Linked DNA regions of Homo sapiens: all the other regions are linked to region 1. The links are contacts of gene promoters, found by promoter capture Hi-C in blood cells and fetal thymus (Javierre and others, 2016). All regions are on one chromosome and are shown on one strand. Each heading gives the region's core, a stretch centred on a gene start or on the middle of the fragment in contact. The rest is flanking DNA. Distances are from core to core; before and after follow the strand shown.

The links. Contacts are between HindIII fragments. The CHiCAGO score rates a contact against its expected background, and 5 or more counts as called.
Region 2: a fragment that was not itself captured here is called in contact with the fragment with the promoter of SPZ1 in region 1 in 10 of 17 cell types (neutrophils, non-activated CD4 T cells, activated CD4 T cells and 7 more); the score reaches 13.3 in neutrophils.
Region 3: a contact is called between the fragment with the promoter of LINC01455 here and the fragment with the promoter of SPZ1 in region 1, in 11 of 17 cell types (naive CD4 T cells, endothelial precursors, activated CD4 T cells and 8 more). The highest score is 11.0, in naive CD4 T cells.
Region 4: a contact is called between a fragment that was not itself captured here and the fragment with the promoter of SPZ1 in region 1, in 7 of 17 cell types (neutrophils, non-activated CD4 T cells, monocytes and 4 more). The highest score is 6.8, in neutrophils.
Region 5: a fragment that was not itself captured here is called in contact with the fragment with the promoter of SPZ1 in region 1 in 1 of 17 cell types (activated CD4 T cells); the score reaches 5.0 in activated CD4 T cells.
Region 6: a contact is called between a fragment that was not itself captured here and the fragment with the promoter of SPZ1 in region 1, in 1 of 17 cell types (neutrophils). The highest score is 5.3, in neutrophils.

The regions. Positions count from the first base shown.
Region 1 is chr5:80,318,433-80,321,303 of GRCh38, forward strand. It overlaps SPZ1 (spermatogenic leucine zipper 1), which reads left to right and starts at 1,570. Exons shown (of 1, transcript NM_032567.4): 1 at 1,570-2,871. The coding sequence starts at 1,784. The HindIII fragment of the contact is 2,056 bases long and covers 939-2,871 here.
Region 2 is chr5:80,057,531-80,060,673 of GRCh38, forward strand. It overlaps THBS4 (thrombospondin 4), which reads left to right. Exons shown (of 22, transcript NM_003248.6): 4 at 676-784; 5 at 1,178-1,260; 6 at 1,910-1,961; 7 at 2,173-2,375. Among named protein-coding and RNA genes, the nearest start is that of THBS4, 24 kb to the left of the region's middle. The HindIII fragment of the contact is 5,569 bases long and covers 1-3,143 here.
Region 3 is chr5:79,935,122-79,938,031 of GRCh38, forward strand. It overlaps LINC01455 (long intergenic non-protein coding RNA 1455), which reads left to right and starts at 1,458. Exons shown (of 3, transcript NR_131226.1): 1 at 1,458-1,759. The region is part of intron 2 of LOC105379048 (a long non-coding RNA gene); the gene reads left to right. The HindIII fragment of the contact is 4,387 bases long and covers 1-2,910 here.
Region 4 is chr5:80,034,571-80,037,472 of GRCh38, forward strand. It overlaps THBS4 (thrombospondin 4), which reads left to right and starts at 778. Exons shown (of 22, transcript NM_003248.6): 1 at 778-1,055. The coding sequence starts at 968. The HindIII fragment of the contact is 2,246 bases long and covers 253-2,498 here.
Region 5 is chr5:79,866,543-79,869,595 of GRCh38, forward strand. The region is part of intron 1 of LOC105379048 (a long non-coding RNA gene); the gene reads left to right. Among named protein-coding and RNA genes, the nearest start is that of LINC01455, 69 kb to the right of the region's middle. The HindIII fragment of the contact is 3,615 bases long and covers 1-3,053 here.
Region 6 is chr5:80,681,253-80,684,284 of GRCh38, forward strand. The region is part of intron 8 of MSH3 (mutS homolog 3); the gene reads left to right. Among named protein-coding and RNA genes, the nearest start is that of DHFR, 28 kb to the left of the region's middle. The HindIII fragment of the contact is 1,819 bases long and covers 621-2,439 here.

The DNA.
Region 1 (2,871 bases), core at 320-2,819:
TAACTGGAGAAGAAAGAAAACATATAAATTTCTCTTCTCTAGGGGAAAAAAAACCTGAGTATGAGTTTTCCCTTAAGACTGGAAGCAAATTTCTATTAAAGTGCTTGCTAGCAAGATTTTGAAGGCCAGGAAAAAGTCATACACAAGAAATGTTTCTTTGATTGAGTTCTATATTCACAAGACCTGACTCCTAAGAACAAAAAGACAAGAAAGCAGCTTATTAAAATGCAAGAAGTTTAATAAACTTGTTACTTTCTATAACCCACTAGAGAATTTACCTGTTTCAAATGCTTTTTATTTTTTAATTTTTAATTTCTTTTTTTGAGGCAGTGTCTTGTTCTGTCACCCAGGCTGGAGTGCACTGGCACGATCTCAGCTCACTGCAACCTCCTCCTCCTGGGTTCAAGCAAGTCTCATGCCTCAGCCTTCTGAGTAGCTGGGATTACAGGTGTGTGCTGCCATGCCCAGCTAATTTTTGCATTTTTAGTAGAGATGGGGTTTTGTCATGTTGCCCAGGCTGATCCTGAACTCCTGGCCTCAAGTGATCTGCCCGCCTTAGCCTCCCAAAGTGCTGGGATTACAGGCATGAGCCACTGCACCTGGCCAATTTTTTAATTTTTTGTGATAGATCTTGCTGTGTTGCCCAAACTGGAGTGCACTAAGTAGCACAGTCATGGCTCACTGCAGCCTCAACCTCCCAGGCTCAAGTGATCCTCTCGCCTCAGCCTCCCAAGTAGCTGGGACCACAGGCACACACTACCATGCCCTTCTAATCAAACACTTTAGAAATATAACTATGTCATTTTAACAAGTTACTGTGTAGAGTGTGGAAATCTTAGGGGATCAATAAAAGAGCCAAAAAAAAAATCCCCAAATAAGTTACTGTGAAAAGTAATAGTCAAAGTTTTCTATCACCTGATGTAAATGATTTGTGAGTAAGCTTGCCAAGCCTGTCTTAAAGGATGCCTATATTCAAAGCCAAGAAAAGTCCCAGTTTGTAATTGTGTTGCTATTATAACCATTCAGATAGTCCCTTCTTGGAGCAGTAGAATATTTTTGAATGGAGGGACTCCTGACATTACTTTCCTAAAATCACAAAAGGCTGTCACTCTCAGGGTTTTGTTTTGTGTGGATAACTTTCTCTTACAGTCACATCTCTCCTAGAATGGGAGCAATAGAGCCTCTAGGTGCTATGAAAGGATGGGGACCTCACCAGAGAGGACTGGTCTCAGCAATGTCCTTAAGTGGTCAAAACATGCTGCGGTTGAGGTCAGGATTGTGAGGGGATAGAGGTGACGTAGAGAAGTAACTGAGTGCATTTAGACTGAGATGAATAGCAACCTAGAAATTAAGGAGGGGAAGAGCTATTGTAGAGCTCTTTCTGGCATGAGGAGTAGGGATAGCTCAAGGTTGGTTTTGATGCAGGAGTCACTGGGCAGGAATTTAAGAGGCTTCCATTGTGACACAAAGGAGACAGACACTATGGATAGGCCACAATGGTGCAGTGACAAAATAAAGACCTGGTTGCTAGGGCCAGAGAATAAACACCGGGTGCCTAGAGGAGAAGAGATGGAGCCCCAGCCTTGGTCCCCTTTCCCACCCTTCCTCCCCACAAGGCTGTCTGAGATGCCACCTTCCACCTAAACATCATCTCCCAAATTTTAATCCTTAACTTTGGTCTCTGACTTCTGCTTGATTCCACAGTCTCCACCCACATTTGCACAAAGGACCATCACCTGTCCTTCCTGGAATCTCTAAAGTTTTCTGCTTTCCTTCTGTCCTGATGGCCAGCTCTGCTAAGTCAGCTGAGATGCCCACCATCTCCAAAACCGTTAACCCTACTCCTGATCCTCATCAAGAATATCTGGACCCTAGGATTACCATTGCCTTATTCGAAATTGGATCACATTCCCCTTCCTCCTGGGGCTCTCTCCCTTTCCTAAAGAATAGCAGCCATCAAGTTACAGAACAACAGACTGCACAGAAGTTTAACAATCTCTTAAAAGAAATTAAAGATATTCTTAAAAATATGGCAGGTTTTGAAGAGAAGATCACAGAAGCAAAAGAACTTTTTGAGGAAACCAATATTACTGAGGATGTGTCAGCCCACAAAGAAAATATCAGAGGACTTGACAAAATCAATGAAATGTTATCAACAAACCTGCCTGTTAGTTTAGCCCCAGAGAAAGAAGACAATGAAAAGAAACAGGAGATGATATTGGAAACCAATATTACTGAGGATGTGTCAGCCCACAAAGAAAATATCAGAGGACTTGACAAAATCAATGAAATGTTATCAACAAACCTGCCTGTTAGTTTAGCCCCAGAGAAAGAAGACAATGAAAAGAAACAGCAGATGATAATGGAAAACCAGAACTCTGAGAACACCGCACAAGTTTTTGCAAGAGATTTGGTAAATCGTTTAGAAGAAAAAAAAGTCCTTAACGAAACTCAACAAAGTCAGGAAAAAGCAAAAAACAGACTTAATGTTCAAGAAGAAACTATGAAAATTAGGAACAACATGGAGCAGTTACTACAGGAAGCAGAACACTGGAGTAAACAACATACTGAGCTCAGTAAACTGATAAAATCCTATCAGAAATCTCAGAAAGACATAAGTGAAACTCTTGGAAATAATGGAGTCGGTTTCCAAACCCAGCCAAATAATGAAGTGTCGGCTAAGCATGAGCTGGAGGAACAGGTGAAGAAACTGAGCCATGACACCTATTCATTGCAGTTGATGGCAGCTTTGCTAGAGAATGAATGCCAAATCTTACAGCAGAGAGTAGAGATTCTCAAGGAACTCCATCATCAGAAACAGGGAACTCTGCAAGAGAAGCCAATTCAGATAAACTATAAACAGGACAAGAA
Region 2 (3,143 bases), core at 463-2,962, 260 kb before region 1:
CAGAATTCCTCTGAAAATCCTTAGCTGTGCTCATTTCTAAAATAAGGATGATGACTTCACTTTGGCAGTTAACATAAATGTTTTGTTGTATATAGATATAATAAAGGTGATTGCAAGCAGCATTCACAAGATAAAAGGGCAAGGACATTGACTTTTTGACTAACAATGAATAATATCAACCCGTAATATAAAAATATGATGCCAACTACCTAATGATCATAGAAGATATCATTTATTCATTCTCATATCCCAAAGAAGTCAGAGGCTTTGCTAGACCCTTGAGCCAAGACAACCAAAAAATAATACTGTTTAAAATTGGGGTTAACACCTTATTTATTATTATCTAAATTCCATAAACAAATTACAGACAATTCTTAAGAGGCTCCTGCCACAAAATAACTCCTTTACCATGTAGGAAAAGAGCCTTTCGTTTTCTCAGCTGTCTTGGTGACAATGCCAGCATTTTCCTAGGCTACTGGCTACTTACATATTCACTTTAGTCAAAAAGATAGGGCTGGCAGGCTTTAGGAAAAAATGTGATCCTACAAAATTATGTAAGATGTCAGAGGGTCCAAGTATACAGGACTACTTGATTATGAAAATTGCGTGAGTAGGCAAGCACATTGGCTTTTGAACAGTGTCAGCAATCTGTGGTATGAATGTGATTTCTTCCAGGACTTCTTGGAAGAGCTGAAGCTGGTGGTGAGAGGCTCACTGTTCCAGGTGGCCAGCCTGCAAGACTGCTTCCTGCAGCAGAGTGAGCCACTGGCTGCCACAGGCACAGGTGTGGGCTCTTGGGCAGTTTGCATGCCTTCATCAACACAAACTCCAAAGACCCTGAATAGGCTGGGTCCCATCACCGAAAAGTGGGACTGTCAACAGAGCAGCCCAACAAAACGTATCTATGAAAATCAGTCTCTTGAACAAAATCCAGGGCACAGAATATTTTCATTATGCTTTTATTTTTATGATTCACATGGAATTTAGACTTAGTCAGTGGCATCATTATCATTATTTTTTTTAGCTGAATTAAAGAAATTACCCCAAATTAAATTCAAAGATTCTGGGTTTTTGAATCATCTTGTCAGGATGATTTCCTGGGGAATAATTTGGTTTTGAGTCACTTAGAAATGACCATCACTGGCTGAAAACTCTTTGCCTTTTGCTGTTCCTACAGGGGACTTTAACCGGCAGTTCTTGGGTCAAATGACACAATTAAACCAACTCCTGGGAGAGGTGAAGGACCTTCTGAGACAGCAGGTAACAAGCGGGACATATCATCAGAAAAGCCCTCGTCTTCTTAGAGCAGCTCCCCACAAGCTAGTGGAGCTGCAGGCCTGCCCAGGCACGGGGGCAGCCTCTGAGCCAGATCTCCGGGGGCCCACGCAGCCCCGCACGCCAGGGCTCTGCTGGAAGTTCTCTGGAAATGGGGTCCAAGCTCGTGATGAACACACCATGGCTCTAAGCAGAGCGGGAGCCATCAAGGGCTGCTAACGCTACTGTAAGAAGTGTTACAGAGAGCCAGGTGCGGTGCCTCATGACTGTAATCCCAGCACTTTGGGAGGCTGAGGTGGGCAGATCACGAGGTGAGGAGCTCGAGACCAGCCTGAACAACATGGTGAAACCCCGTCTCTACTAAAAATACAAAAATTAGCCAGGCATGGTGGTGCATGCCTATAATCCCAGCTACTCAGGAGGCTGAGGCAGGAGAATTGCTGGAACCCAGGAGGCGGAGGTTGTAGTGAGCTGAGATCGTGCCACTGCACTCCAGCCTGGGCGACAGACTGAGACTGTCTCAAAAAAAAAAAAAAAAAAAGTGTTACATAGATAGCTCCACATGGATTCTTTCATTCCTGGATGATATCAGGCATTCCTTTTCAATCCTTTTTTCCCCTTCTCATTTTTAAAGGTTAAGGAAACATCATTTTTGCGAAACACCATAGCTGAATGCCAGGCTTGCGGTAAGTGCTTTTCTAGTAATGGGCTCGCCTGAGTTGGATGATGCAGGCTGATGAAGGGCTTGCGGTGAGGCTGTGTTGACCGCAGTTTCTGAAGGTCTACCACATAGTTGGAGGGGAGGGAGGAAAAGTTCAATAGGAAACCAAATTTTGTTTTGCCTTCTGTATATCTTCCTGGCGGTGAATACGCCTGTGGATGATTGTTTTTCTCTAGGTCCTCTCAAGTTTCAGTCTCCGACCCCAAGCACGGTGGTGCCCCCGGCTCCCCCTGCACCGCCAACACGCCCACCTCGTCGGTGTGACTCCAACCCATGTTTCCGAGGTGTCCAATGTACCGACAGTAGAGATGGCTTCCAGTGTGGGCCCTGCCCCGAGGGCTACACAGGAAACGGGATCACCTGTATTGATGTTGATGAGGTAAAAGTTCACTTAGACTGGGAGGGGATCCCTAAGTATCCTCCTCACCCTGCAGCTTTTGGAAAAAGAAGCCAAGCTGATGATTAAGGGCTGACTTGGGCTGTCCTCCAGGCTCCATTGAAACCACTTGCTTGGAGACCCTGAGACAAGGGATGGCGGAAGGAGACATGACCCAAGGTTATGGCTGCGTTTGTCATTTTTCCTCTGTGTTTCCAACTCTTCTACTGGTCCATTGGCTACAGTGCTGAGGTTTCTGCTTTACACGCTGACATTTGCATTGGTTATTTCTCTTAAATAGTCTGTGCTACAATTTTGTTTTTCCCCCACTTTTGCAAATGTGGAAGGGGAGGATTTTTCTAAGGGTATATTTCAGGAGTCACCGTGGATTTCTTCAGGCTTCCTAAAATAAAGGAGCAGAGGGGAATCTCACACCAACAAGGGGGAGGCCCTGTAACCTATGAGTAACTAAACGTGCCCAGGGAGGGCCCCAGAGGAGGCACATCCAGCAAATACCAGCTATTTGACCGGCTGGCAGAGCCCCAGAAGAGACTGTTTCAAGACCCTGGTTAGGCAGGCCAGCCTAGTGGCTGAAGCCTGCAATCTCAACACTTTGGGAGGCTGAGGCAGGAGGATCACATGAGCCCAGGAGTTTGAGACCAGCCCGGGCAACAAGACAAAACCCTATCTCTACAAAAAATATGATAATTACTGGGGCATGGTGGCATGTGCCTGTGGTCCCAGCTACTCTGGAAGATGAAGCAGGAGGAT
Region 3 (2,910 bases), core at 208-2,707, 380 kb before region 1:
TGTCACAGACTAATCCCCTCCCTTTAGATCCCATCTCTGAATTCACAGCCATTCCGGGGATTCAGTGGTCTCTGCTCATCCCACCACCACGGAACTTCAAGCCAGGCCATCTCAGGCCTGTGTGGGTCCTGAGTGGTTTGGAATCTCTTCAAATCAATGAAAGATTTATTCAACATCTATTTAGAGAAGAAGACTAATGAGCAGCTCTGTGTGGCAGACTGGTGAATATGGAGGCTTCCTGGTGGTGGCATTCTGCCTCTCATCTATGGGTGTAAGCAGTTCAGCTCTGGCCTCAGCTTGCATCCTCTGCTCGGGCAATAAGCCCTTCGTGTAAGTTTTACTTGAAAAAGCCCCTTAACTATCTCAACATCTCCCCTTTAATTACCCTCCAGCAGCTGATGAAGTGATTGTTCCATTTCTCTTCCTGAAAAAGAGCTATGGGAAATACTATTTTCTCCATCCCATTCCATTTCCAGGAATCTTTTAACATATTTTATAGATTGCTGCCATGCCCCTAACCCAGATCTCACCTCAGACAGCTTAGCTTCGCTACTGCTCCCTCGGCCTGGCTGCACAGCCCTGCCCCACCAGCGCCAGCCAGAGCTAATGCCTCTTCTGTTTCTCCTACTCCCAGCCCAGCCTGGGAGCCTAGACTTGCGATTGTCTTCCTTCCATCATGTACTACCTTGGCAGATGGGTGGGAAAACTGAGCAGGAAAAAATCACCTGTATATTATGCCTCCTGGCCTCCAAAGAAGCAAATTAGGGTTTTAAAATAGGTCAAACTGGGCTTGAGGAGGAGTGGGAAGACTGCCAATTACAATCTCTCAACTCAAGGTTGCTTGTTAAAAAAAAAACAAAAAAACTAAACAAAACTGGAACTGTTTCCATTTTTAAACAAAGTGAACTTTTGATGTTAATTCTGACCTTAAAAAAAAGGAAAAAGAGAAAGAAAAGAGATGTCTTTCTCCTCATGATTTCAATTTCAAGAGTTGTGTGAAATCAAGCCCTCAATAGTGCTAGGGTGTAGGGTGGAGGCATTTTCTGATTCACATCAGCCCCCAGCTGCTTGAGGATTGTGAAACCCTGCCTGAGTTTCCACAGCACACCAAATCCACAGCCTTCTCTGGCTCTCCCTTCAAGCTCTCCCCAGCTCTATCTACGTAGTCTCAGTAATTTGGGGTGGAAGTTATTTAGCAGTTTCCTTACAATTAAATGATTACATTGTTCATATTTCCACACCTGCAAATACCCGAGAGAGTCCCAATCTATTTCAATTATCCCACTTATTAGCATTTCCAGCTTTTCCCATTTGCTAATAAGAACCGGAGCTCTGGGTTGAGGTAATCCCTTCAGAAGTTAAATCATTTTGTGTATTCAGTAACCAGTCTGGGATTATGACCACACTCCACTGACATAACAGAAACATAAAGATGATGAATAGAAGTTGCATGCTTTGCAACTGCAGAAAATAATTTTGGCTTATCCGTCTCTCCAAACAGACTATATATAATTTTTAATATCTGAATTTTAAAGGCAAAGACCAAGATGGTTGAGGATTTGTTAATGACAACATATTTAGTATAAATACTGCTCTATGAATCACTATACTGGTAGGAGCAGGAAGAAGTGGGGAGATGGATAAGAGAAAACTGGAGAGTAGGTGGGAGAAAAAGAGGAATGTGTGGGCTGTTTGAGAATGTTTCAGGCAAGCACCTGGGATAAGGTGCGTCTCAAACCCATGCTGATTCTTCATCATGGTGAGTAGGGTGCTAGCATTTCCCCCTTGTCCACCCCCTTCCCTGCCCCACCCACCACCACACGGAGATGTCAGACTTCCATTGAGGCAGGGGTGTGCTATGTCTTCTGGTTCTTCCAGGAGCCCATGAAATTATATACCTTTCAACACTAGTGCTGCAGGGATATGCACCCAGCAAAGAGGGAAGGCGGGAGTAGTGACTCATTCATGATGAAATTTTTACAAGTCTAAAGTGAAGTGAGACAAACAAGAATAATTATTTATATGTGGATAGATAGATAGATGGATAGATGGATGAAAGGATAGGTAGATGGATGGATGGACAGGGAGAGACAGAGAGAGAGAATGAAATTGCTAACACATTTTGGGAAAAAAACAATTGAGGTTATGCTTTTTTCTTTTTCTTAACTCTTTTTTTTTGTTTGTTTGTTTTTTTGAGACAGAGTCTCGTTCCATCGCCCAGGCTGGAGTGCAGTAGCACAATCTTGGCTCACTGCAACCTCCACCTCCCAGGTTCAACTGATTCTCCTGCCTCAGCCTCCTGTAGATGGGATTACAGGGGCATGCCACAATGCCGGGCTAATTTTTGTATTTTTAGTAGAGACGGGATTTCACCATATTGGCCAGGCTGGTCTCAAACTCCTGACCTCATGATCCTCCCGCCTCAGCCTCCCAAAGCCAGATTATGTTTTGATCACTTACTTGGGGTCAACAAGTTCAGCTATGATAAAGATATGACAGAGGGGCTTTTGGTTTTTGTTTTTAGTTAATCTGTCATTTGGCAAAATTAAAAGTTGACTCCCTATGTAGGTCCCCTCTTGACTTGTTTTTTGTTGTTGTTGTTTTTGAGATAGAGTTTCACTCTATCCCCCAGGCTAGAGTGTAGGGTGTGATCTCGGCTCACTGCAACCTCTGCCTCCCAGGTTCAACTGATTCTCAGGTCTCATCCTCCTGAATAGTTGAGATTACAAGCATGCGCCACCACCCCTGGCTAATTTTTGTATTTTTTGTAGAGAGGGGGTTTTGTCATGTTGGCCAGGCTGGTCTTGAACTCCTGACCTCAAGTGATCCGCCCACCTCAGCCTACCAAAGTGCTGGGATTACTGGCGTGAGCCACTGCGTGCAGCCTCGACTTGTTTTTTATATTTTACT
Region 4 (2,902 bases), core at 126-2,625, 280 kb before region 1:
ACTCCCGTACCTTTAAACTGTCACACGGAATCTTTGGTGACAGAGGAATAGAGGTGGGCAAGCAGGGCGTTTGGAAACCATACTGAAAACGAATTATCCATAAAGCACAGATTCACCAGCCTAGAAATGGCTCTGTCTGGATGGATTCCTTGAGATGTGTTTTATCTCCATTAAAAACACAACAACTTTCAAACTTTCACTGTGTCTCAAAATGATAGAGAAAAAAATTCAGCCTTTCAAGTATTCAAGAAAAGCTTGAAGAAATAAAAGAAACTCGCTGCTCTCTGGGCCACTTTAGGAGGCAGAGCGTTCCTGGAGAACTTCAGGATTCATTCGCAAGGGAACCCAAGGTGGGCATTCAAAGCCGATCCAAAGGATATTCTTCTTTTTAGAAAACAAAAGGAGCGCAAGGAGTAGGGGACTGAAGGTGCCCAAAGCTAGTGGGTCAGTGTCACTTTCTTCCTCCCTTTCGCCCCTTTCCTCCCGCTCCTTTCTCCCCTGTGGTCTCTGCTCAGCACCCCTTTCTCTCCAGCCCCGACTGCCCATCTTCGCCCCTACCCTCGCGCGTCGGGGCCGTGTCTACACCCACCCCAGGACCTGGTCCGTCCAGGCTCCTTCCCATCCTCACACCCGCGCCTTTCTCCCTGCGGCCCCGGCTCGCTGCTCCAGCTGCCCAGCTCTTCCCAGGACAGGGGATCCCGCCAAGGGGGCCGCCCCCGCCCCGGCCCTCCCCCGCCCGGCCGCACCATAAAGCGCCCGGCCGCTGCCGCGGAGCCCAGCAGCCAGCTCCCCAGCACCGCACGGCGGGGACGCGAGCGCGCCCCCGACGGCAGCCCGGACGCCGAGCACGGGTCACCTGCGGCGCCGGCCCGGGCGCCGACCGAGGTTCAACGCACGGCCCGGGGACCCCCAGGCGGGGCCAACGCCGCCGTCGCCCCCGGCCTCGCGGGGAGCAGGAAGAGCCAACATGCTGGCCCCGCGCGGAGCCGCCGTCCTCCTGCTGCACCTGGTCCTGCAGCGGTGGCTAGCGGCAGGCGCCCAGGCCACCCCCCAGGGTAAGTGGGTTCGGGTCGGGCCTGGGAGCGCCGGGCACCGGGTGCCCCATCTGCTGAGTGAGTGGAGGGACTTGCTCGGCCCTGTGCTCCTGTGGCCTTGCTCAGCCCCTCTCTGTCCCTCCCGGGCCCAATCAAAGCATATTGTGATTGGAGGTAGTGATTAGTCTAGAATTTTCCGAAATTCGATTATCCAATGATGAGAACAATTGCCTAAATAGTTGGGGGATGCAAAATTGTTTCAGACTATGCAAAGATGTGGGGTGGGGTTGCCTTCAAAACTTGCTACACGGTCCTAGACCTCTTAACATGTTAGGCTCTGGTGTAGGGTGAATTCCGGGTCCTGCACCCTGTGCCGGTTCCCTCCAGGCAGCCTTGCTCCCTAAATCCTTCCTCAGGCGGAGCGATGTATGCCCAGAGTCTGCTCTTGACATCCCTGAGAAAGACGCAGAATTACTCTACTTGCCCTGCCACCTGCATTTTCTGCTCTGACTTTGCTTGAACGACAAAAAGAAAGTTTATTTCAAGGATTGGCTTGATGTCTTAATTTCTGAGGTAAATAGGAAGGGCTGAGAAACTGGTCTTTTTCAATGAAATCAGTTCTTTGCAGCAAGATGGATGCAGCTGGAGGCCATTTTCCTAAGTGGATTAAGGCAGGAACAGAAAAGCAAATACCATGTTCTCACAAGCGGGAGCTAAGCAGTGGATAGATATGGACATAAAGATGGAAACAGTAGACACTGGGGACTCCAAAAGTAGGGGGGAAGGTTGGGAAAACTACCAATTGGGTACTACGTTCACTGGGTGATGTGTTCACTAGAAGCTCAAATCCCACCTTATGCAATGCACCCATGTAACAAACTTGCACATGTACCCTCTGAATCTATAATTTAAAAAGAAAAAAGAAAGAAATTGATCTTTTTCTATGAAACGGTAAAAATTCAACAAATAATGTGAAAAGATACTTGGACAATCCTCAAACCCCTTGGTGAAATGGGGTGAAATAGCCATTGGGTAGAAAGCAGTTAAACAGAATTTTTTGTAAAGACCAAAAGGAAGACATGATTTAAGCAAAGAAAGATCTTAGGGCTATAACTGGCCCTAACTGGTCAGGCGTGAGCTTCATCTGTTTGAACTTGGTGCCTGGGTTGATTTATTACTGACTGTGGAAGTAAAACTGGAAGAGACGCACAACTTGAAGTAAAAGTTGTTTTTCCTCTTGTAGCCAGAGCAAAGACTGCCTATGAGGGCGTTCTCAACTTCCCTGCCTCTCGCTGCTGGAATCACCCATTTAAACTGCATTTCGCCAAATAACTCATTTTCATTCCAGACCAGACAACCAGAACTGTGGTTTCAGGGGTTAGAGTACTGCTAACTTTTAGTTTGTGTTGAAGTATTTGAAATGCTGTAGTCCGTGCCCCATACTTCTAGGAAGGTAAAAAAGGAAGCTTTTAAACACTTCAAAAGTCTTATTGTGATGATATTTGGCAAGTTCAAATTTATAGGTATAATTTTTTTGTGTTATATACGTTCTTGACTTTTGAACATACAGCTTTATGGTGTGCCTTAGGTATGTCTCAGACATACCTGACCATTTTATGGAGATTTGAACTCGGCCTATACAACCTAAATTATCTGGGTAATTTAGTTGCTGTAGATGATCTGATTAAGTTAAGTTTCTGATAGATTCTTTTATTGCATTATCTAGTCTGCAATTATCAGGCTTAACAGGATAATTTGATTATCTCCTTCTTCCCCTGAGCTTCATTGTTGGTCTTAAATTAGTATATATTCAATTTACATACCATGGTAGCTGCGCTCATTGGTAGCAGTAATTTCACCTCTAACAG
Region 5 (3,053 bases), core at 204-2,703, 450 kb before region 1:
CTCTCAGCGTAAGAGCCCCAATTAGGGAGCAACACATGGTTTAGAAAGCCCTGGTGGTAAATTTCCTGATGTACTGGATTTCATTTTGGGAATTAGTGTAGTGCAATGGAAAAAATGTGAACTCTGGAGCCAGCCAGACTGGGTTCAAATTCTGGCCTTACCACTTACCAGCTTTATGACCCTGAGCAAGTTACTCTGCCACTTTGCACCTCAGTTTCCTCATCTGATATATGGAGATGATGATAATGGTACCTACCTCACAAAGCTATTGTGGATGAAATCAGTTAATTCATGCAGAGTACTTAGAACAGTGCCTGGAACATGCAAACATTCAAGAAGTCTCAGATGCAACTTTTGTACCAAGACAAAGATCTAATCCATAGGAACAAATAATAAAGAAAATTGAGGCAAATGTCAGGGTGGTTGTGATGGTATTTGGGGGGTGGGTTGGCCTTGACTGAAGTCCTTACCTGGCACGGGCTAATCCTTCTACATGGAAAGCCAACGTTGCCTGGGCACAAGCCCGCTCCTGAGTGGCCAGACTGATGAGGACGGAGGATCCTGCAGATGAAATATTGTTGGATCAGGCACCGGATGGCTCATTCCCTCCATCTTTCTTTTTGGTCTCTCCCTCACTTCTTTTTTGTCCTCCTCTCTCCCCCTCCTCTTTCTTCACGCTAAGCCAGGCCTTTGCCACATCAGCCTCACCAATAGGACCCTCAGGGATTGCGGTCCCATAAGCAAGTCTAACTTGAGTCCTTGGCCCAGTTCCTGGCGCTTCATTTTAGCTTCTCCCATCCCAAGTGGGGCTCTTGTGGCCCATTCTTCTCCTTCTTCCCAAGAGATGGCTCAGCTGCCTGCAGATGAGCCTCCTGGGTCCCAAATAGAAGAGAGTCTTGCTGACTGGGAAGGGGTGGGTGGCTGCTCGGGCTTGCTCTTTCCCTGGCAAAGCCTTTTCTCATACACACATTTTGCTCAGGGCAGTTTTTGGAACACAGACATGCCAAGCCGACCTCACCTCTTGTTAACTGGGACTGAGGAGTCAAGTCCGTTTTGGTCTTAATTAAAAGAACATGAGGATCAGGGTCAACTGTGCAGAAGAATCAGGAGCAAAGTAAAGAGATTAAAGCCATGCTTTGTTCTCATCAGAAAGTTTGATGTTTTGAGAATATTGAGTTGTTATTGAGTCCTCCGCAGTATCTCTCAGGAGGAGAACAAAATTGGCCCATAGAAGGCAAACTGACTGATCCCACCCCTTTCACAAATTCTTCTTAGCAACTTGTTTTCATGAAATTGAGAAGCAGTATGATGTTGTATAAAGAGCAGCGACTCTCATTCTTCACTTTAATAATTTTTGTGGACCTCTGAAAATGCGAGCTTCGCTACTCTCCCATAGCCCTACTTTGGTATCCACATTTCAACCAGATTAGTTTCCTGGGGCTGCTGCAACAAAGTATGACTGACTGGGTGACTTAGAACAACAGAAATGTAAGGTCTCACAGTTCTGGAGACTGGAAGTCCAGGACCAAGGTGTCGGGAGGACCGTGCTGCCTCTGAAGGTGCTAGGGAAGGATCTGTTCCAGGGCTCTCTCTGGGATTCAGGTAGTTCCTTGGCCCTTGGCAGCATAACTCCAATCTCCACGTGGTGTGCCCCTCATATGCCTGTCTGTGGCCAAATTTCTCCTTTCCATAAGGACACCAGTCATATTGAATTAGGGGCCCACCCTACTCTAGTGTGACTCCATCTTAGCTAACTACATCTGCAACCCTCTTTCCAAATAAGGTCATATGCTGAGATACTGAAAGTTGGGACTTCAACATATGAATTTTGGGAGGATACAATTCAACCCTTAACAGCTAGAGCTATGCCCCACAGACCGGATTCCACAAAACCATTGCAATCTGCTTTGCACCACCCACTCCACAGCTTGACAGTCAAGTGCTCAGAGGCTGCATGTTTGATTGAAGCACGCTGATGCTGGTTCTCCATGTCCTGGAAACGAGGCTGGAGACAGGGCCAGGGGCTAAATCATACAGAGCCCTGAAGGCCATGGGCGTTGTGTACTTTATCCTAAGAGCAGTGGGCTGTCTTTGATGCTTACAAACAGAAGGCTGATCAGACTCTAGAAAGAGCCTTCCAACTTTAGTGTTGAGAATGGAATAAAGTTGGGGCAAGGCAATTCTTCAAGCAAGTGACAAGCTGGCCTGAACCTCAATGGTGGCAATGGGAATGCGGGGAAGATGACTTGGAGAAATAGCTGTGATGTATCAGGGTGCCTAGAGAAAAACAACCTAAAGTGTGTGTTATTTTAGCAAAGGCACTGCCATTTGGGGACCGTTGGCAAAAGGAACTTGTCATTTGGGTTTCTGGATATGGACACTTTAATGTTGGCACAGATTCCCTTGTTTTCAAGGAAGTTACCAAGATAAACCCTCTAGTCAAGCCAAAGTAAAGCAAGTTGATTTGGGGAAGATGTCATACCTGAGTGTGGCAACTGCAGAGTGTGATGTTAAATGTTGAAGAACTGGTGAAAAGTTTTCCTGAAGTGACTACTTAGACTGAATTATTCGTATCCCCCATGTATTAGGTGCCTATTTGCTGCTGCAACAAACTACCACAAACTTAGTGGCTTAAATCAACACAAATGTATTATTTCCCAGCACTGTAGGTCAGAAGTCTGACTTGGTTCTTGCAAGACCACAGTCAAGGTGTCAGCAGGGATGCAGTCCTTTCTGGAGCTGTAAGACTCTTTCCTCTGTTCTAAGGCCACCCACATTCCTTGGCTCATGGCTCCTCTCCGTCTTCAATGCCAGCAGCACATTATGTCTCTGGCTCTGCTTCCACTGTCTTTTTCTAACTCTGTCTTCTGCTTTCTACTTTTTTTTTTTTAACGGAATCTCGCTCTGTCACCCAGGCTGGAGTGCAGTGGTGTGATCTCAGCTCACCACACCTTCCACCTCCCAGGTTCAAGCAATTCTCCTGCCTCAGCCTCCCGAGTAGCTGGAATTACAGGCGTGCACCACCACACCCAGCTAATTTTTGTATTTTTAGT
Region 6 (3,032 bases), core at 280-2,779, 360 kb after region 1:
GGAGAGCTGCTTTTACAGAACTAAAAAAATTAATAAAATCTGGAAAAAAATTTTTAAAGGTAGGCTTCTATATTGTATTTTCAATATTTCCTATCATTTCCTTGCTAGAAATGGTAATATGAGAAATGGTGATCAAGAGCTTTATAAACATTCATACCCTCTGATCCAGTTAATTCCATTTTCAGGAATTTATCTTAAGGAAATCATCAGAAATGCACATGAATATTTCTATATATGGATATTCATCATAACAGTATTTGTAATACTGAAAAAATGAATATAGAAATGGAATGGATAAATTATGATAAATTATGATAAATGGATAAATTATGATTTCCTGTCTTTGATTTAGTTCATTTTTCTTTATATTTTATTAACTTAGTATATATTTTATTAACTTAGTATATATTTTATTAATTTAGATTGAGTAAAGTCAATCAATTTTATCAACACATTCATTTTTTTGTTTTCTGCTTAATTTTATAAAATAACAATGGCGAAATTCAATAAAATATCAAAATATTTCATAATGACATTGTCAAAAGTGAATTTTTGTTTGTCAAGCAGCATTCATTGACTGGTGATATTCCTAAATGTTTGTTCATCACATGAGATTTAAAAGCTTGAATTTGGCATATCAAAGATAATTTAGGTGTCTTATGTGGGTTTTACCAAATTTAATGCCTGCTTTTGTCTTATTTTAATTTGAATTTCTCTAGTTAGCATTGTAAATAATTTTCTCTATGTTTACTGACCGTGTGTAATTTTTCAATCTTTGCACTTTTTTTTGTATCCTTTGATCATTTTCACTTTATTTGCATATTGGACTAAGCGAAGTCAAAAGTTAAATCTGCATTTCTGTGGAGTTCCTACAGCTAATTTATATCTATGGACAGAATGAAGTAGAGGAAATTCAAAAGTTAGCAGGGGTCAAACAGTGTGGACTCTTGTGACTCAGGGTTTGAGTTGGAAAACTAGCTCTTCCCTTTAGTGACTTTGAGTAAGTTATCTACTGTATTGTCCTTCAGTGTCCTTTATATTGGGGGTATTAAGAGTGCTTACCTCATGGGGTTGTTGTGAGGATTAAATAAGTTAATATAGGTAAAGCGCCTGAAATAGTACCTGCTGTAGAAGGCTCTCTGTAAGAGGAAGTTTTTTTTTTTATATTTTAATTAAATTTTCTGTGGCTGGGCGCAGTGGCTTATGCTTGTAATCCCAGCAGTTTGGGAGGCCAAGTCAGGCGGATCACAAGATCAGGAGTTCGAGACCAGCCTGACCAACATGGTGAAACCCCATCTCTACTAAAAATACAAAAATTAGCCAGGCATGGCTAAAGTTTTTTGTAGGTACATAATAGATGTATATATTTATGGGTTACATGAGATACTTTCATACAGGCATACAATGCATAATAATTACATCAGGGTAAATGGGGTATCCATCTCCTCAAGCATTTATCCTTTGTGTTACAAACAACCCAATTATACTCTTTTAGTTATTTTAAAATGTACAATTAAATGATTTTTGACTGTAGTCATTCTGTTGCACTATCAAATGCTAGGTCTTATTCTTTCTATTTTTTTTGTACCCATTAACCATCCCCAGTTCCCTTCTCAGCCTCTGGTAGCCATCTTTCTACTCTCTATCTCCATGAGTTCAGTTGTTTTAATTTTTAGCTCCCACAAGTAGGTGAGAACATGCAAAGTTTATCTTTCTGTGCCTGGCTTATTTCATGTAAAATAATGACCTCCAGTTCCATCCATGTTGTTGCAAATGACAGGATCTCATTCCTTTTCATGGCAGAATGCTACTCCATTGTATATATGTACTACATTTTCTTTACCCATTTGTCTGCTGACAGACACCTGGGTGCTCGCAAATCTTAGCTCTTGTGAATAGTGCTGTAGTAAACATGGGAGTGCACATATCTCTTCTATATACTGATTTCCCTTCTTTTGAGTATATATCTAGCAGTGGGATTGCTGGATCATGTGGTAGTTCTATTTTTAGTTTTTTGGTAGTTTTTTTTCAAACTACTCTCCATAGTGGTTGTACTAATTTACATTCCCACCAACAGTCTGTGAGGGTTCCCTTTTCTCCACATCCTCACCAGCATTTATTATTGCATGTCTTTGGATAAAAGCCATTTTAACTGAGGTGAGATGGTATCTCATTGTAGTTTTGATTTGGATTTCTGTAATGAACGATGGTGTTGAGAGCTTTTCACATACCAGGCTGCCATTGTATGTCTTCTTTTGAGAAATGTCTATTCAATTTGTCTATTTTTAAATTGGATAATTAGATTTTTCCTGTAGAGTTGTTTGAGCTCCTTATATATTGTGGTTATTAATCCCTTGTCACATGGGTGGTCTACATACATTTTCTTCCATTCCATGGGTTGTCTCTTCACTTTGTTGATTGTTTCTGTTGCTGTGCAGAAGCTTTTTAACTTCATGTGATCCCATTTGTCCATCTTTGCTTTGGTTGCCCTATTAAGAAATCTTTGCCCAGTTCAGTGTTCTGGAGAGTTTCCCCAATGTTTTATTTTAGTCATTTCATAGTGTGACATTTTAGATTTAAGTCTTTAATCCATTTTTGATTTGATTTTTGTATATGGTGAGAGATAGGGTCTAGTTTCATTGTTCTGCATATGGATGTCCAGTTTTCCCAGCACCATTTGTTGAAAAGATTCTTTCCTCAGTGTATGTTCTTGGCACCATTGTCAAAAATGAGTTCACTGTAGATGTATGGATTTATTTCTGGGTTTTCTGTTCTGTTCCAGTGGTCTGTGTGTCTGTTTTTATGCCAGTACCATGCCATTTTGGTTACTATAGCTCTGTAGTATAATTTGAAGTCAGGTAATGTGATACCTCCAATTTTGTCCTTTTTGCTTAGGATATATTTGGCTATTCTGAGTCTTTCGTTGCTCATATACATTTTAGGCTAATTTTTTCCATTTCTGTGAAAAATGTCACTGATATTTTGATAGGGATTGCGTTGAATCTGTAGATTGCTTTGGGTAGTATGGATGT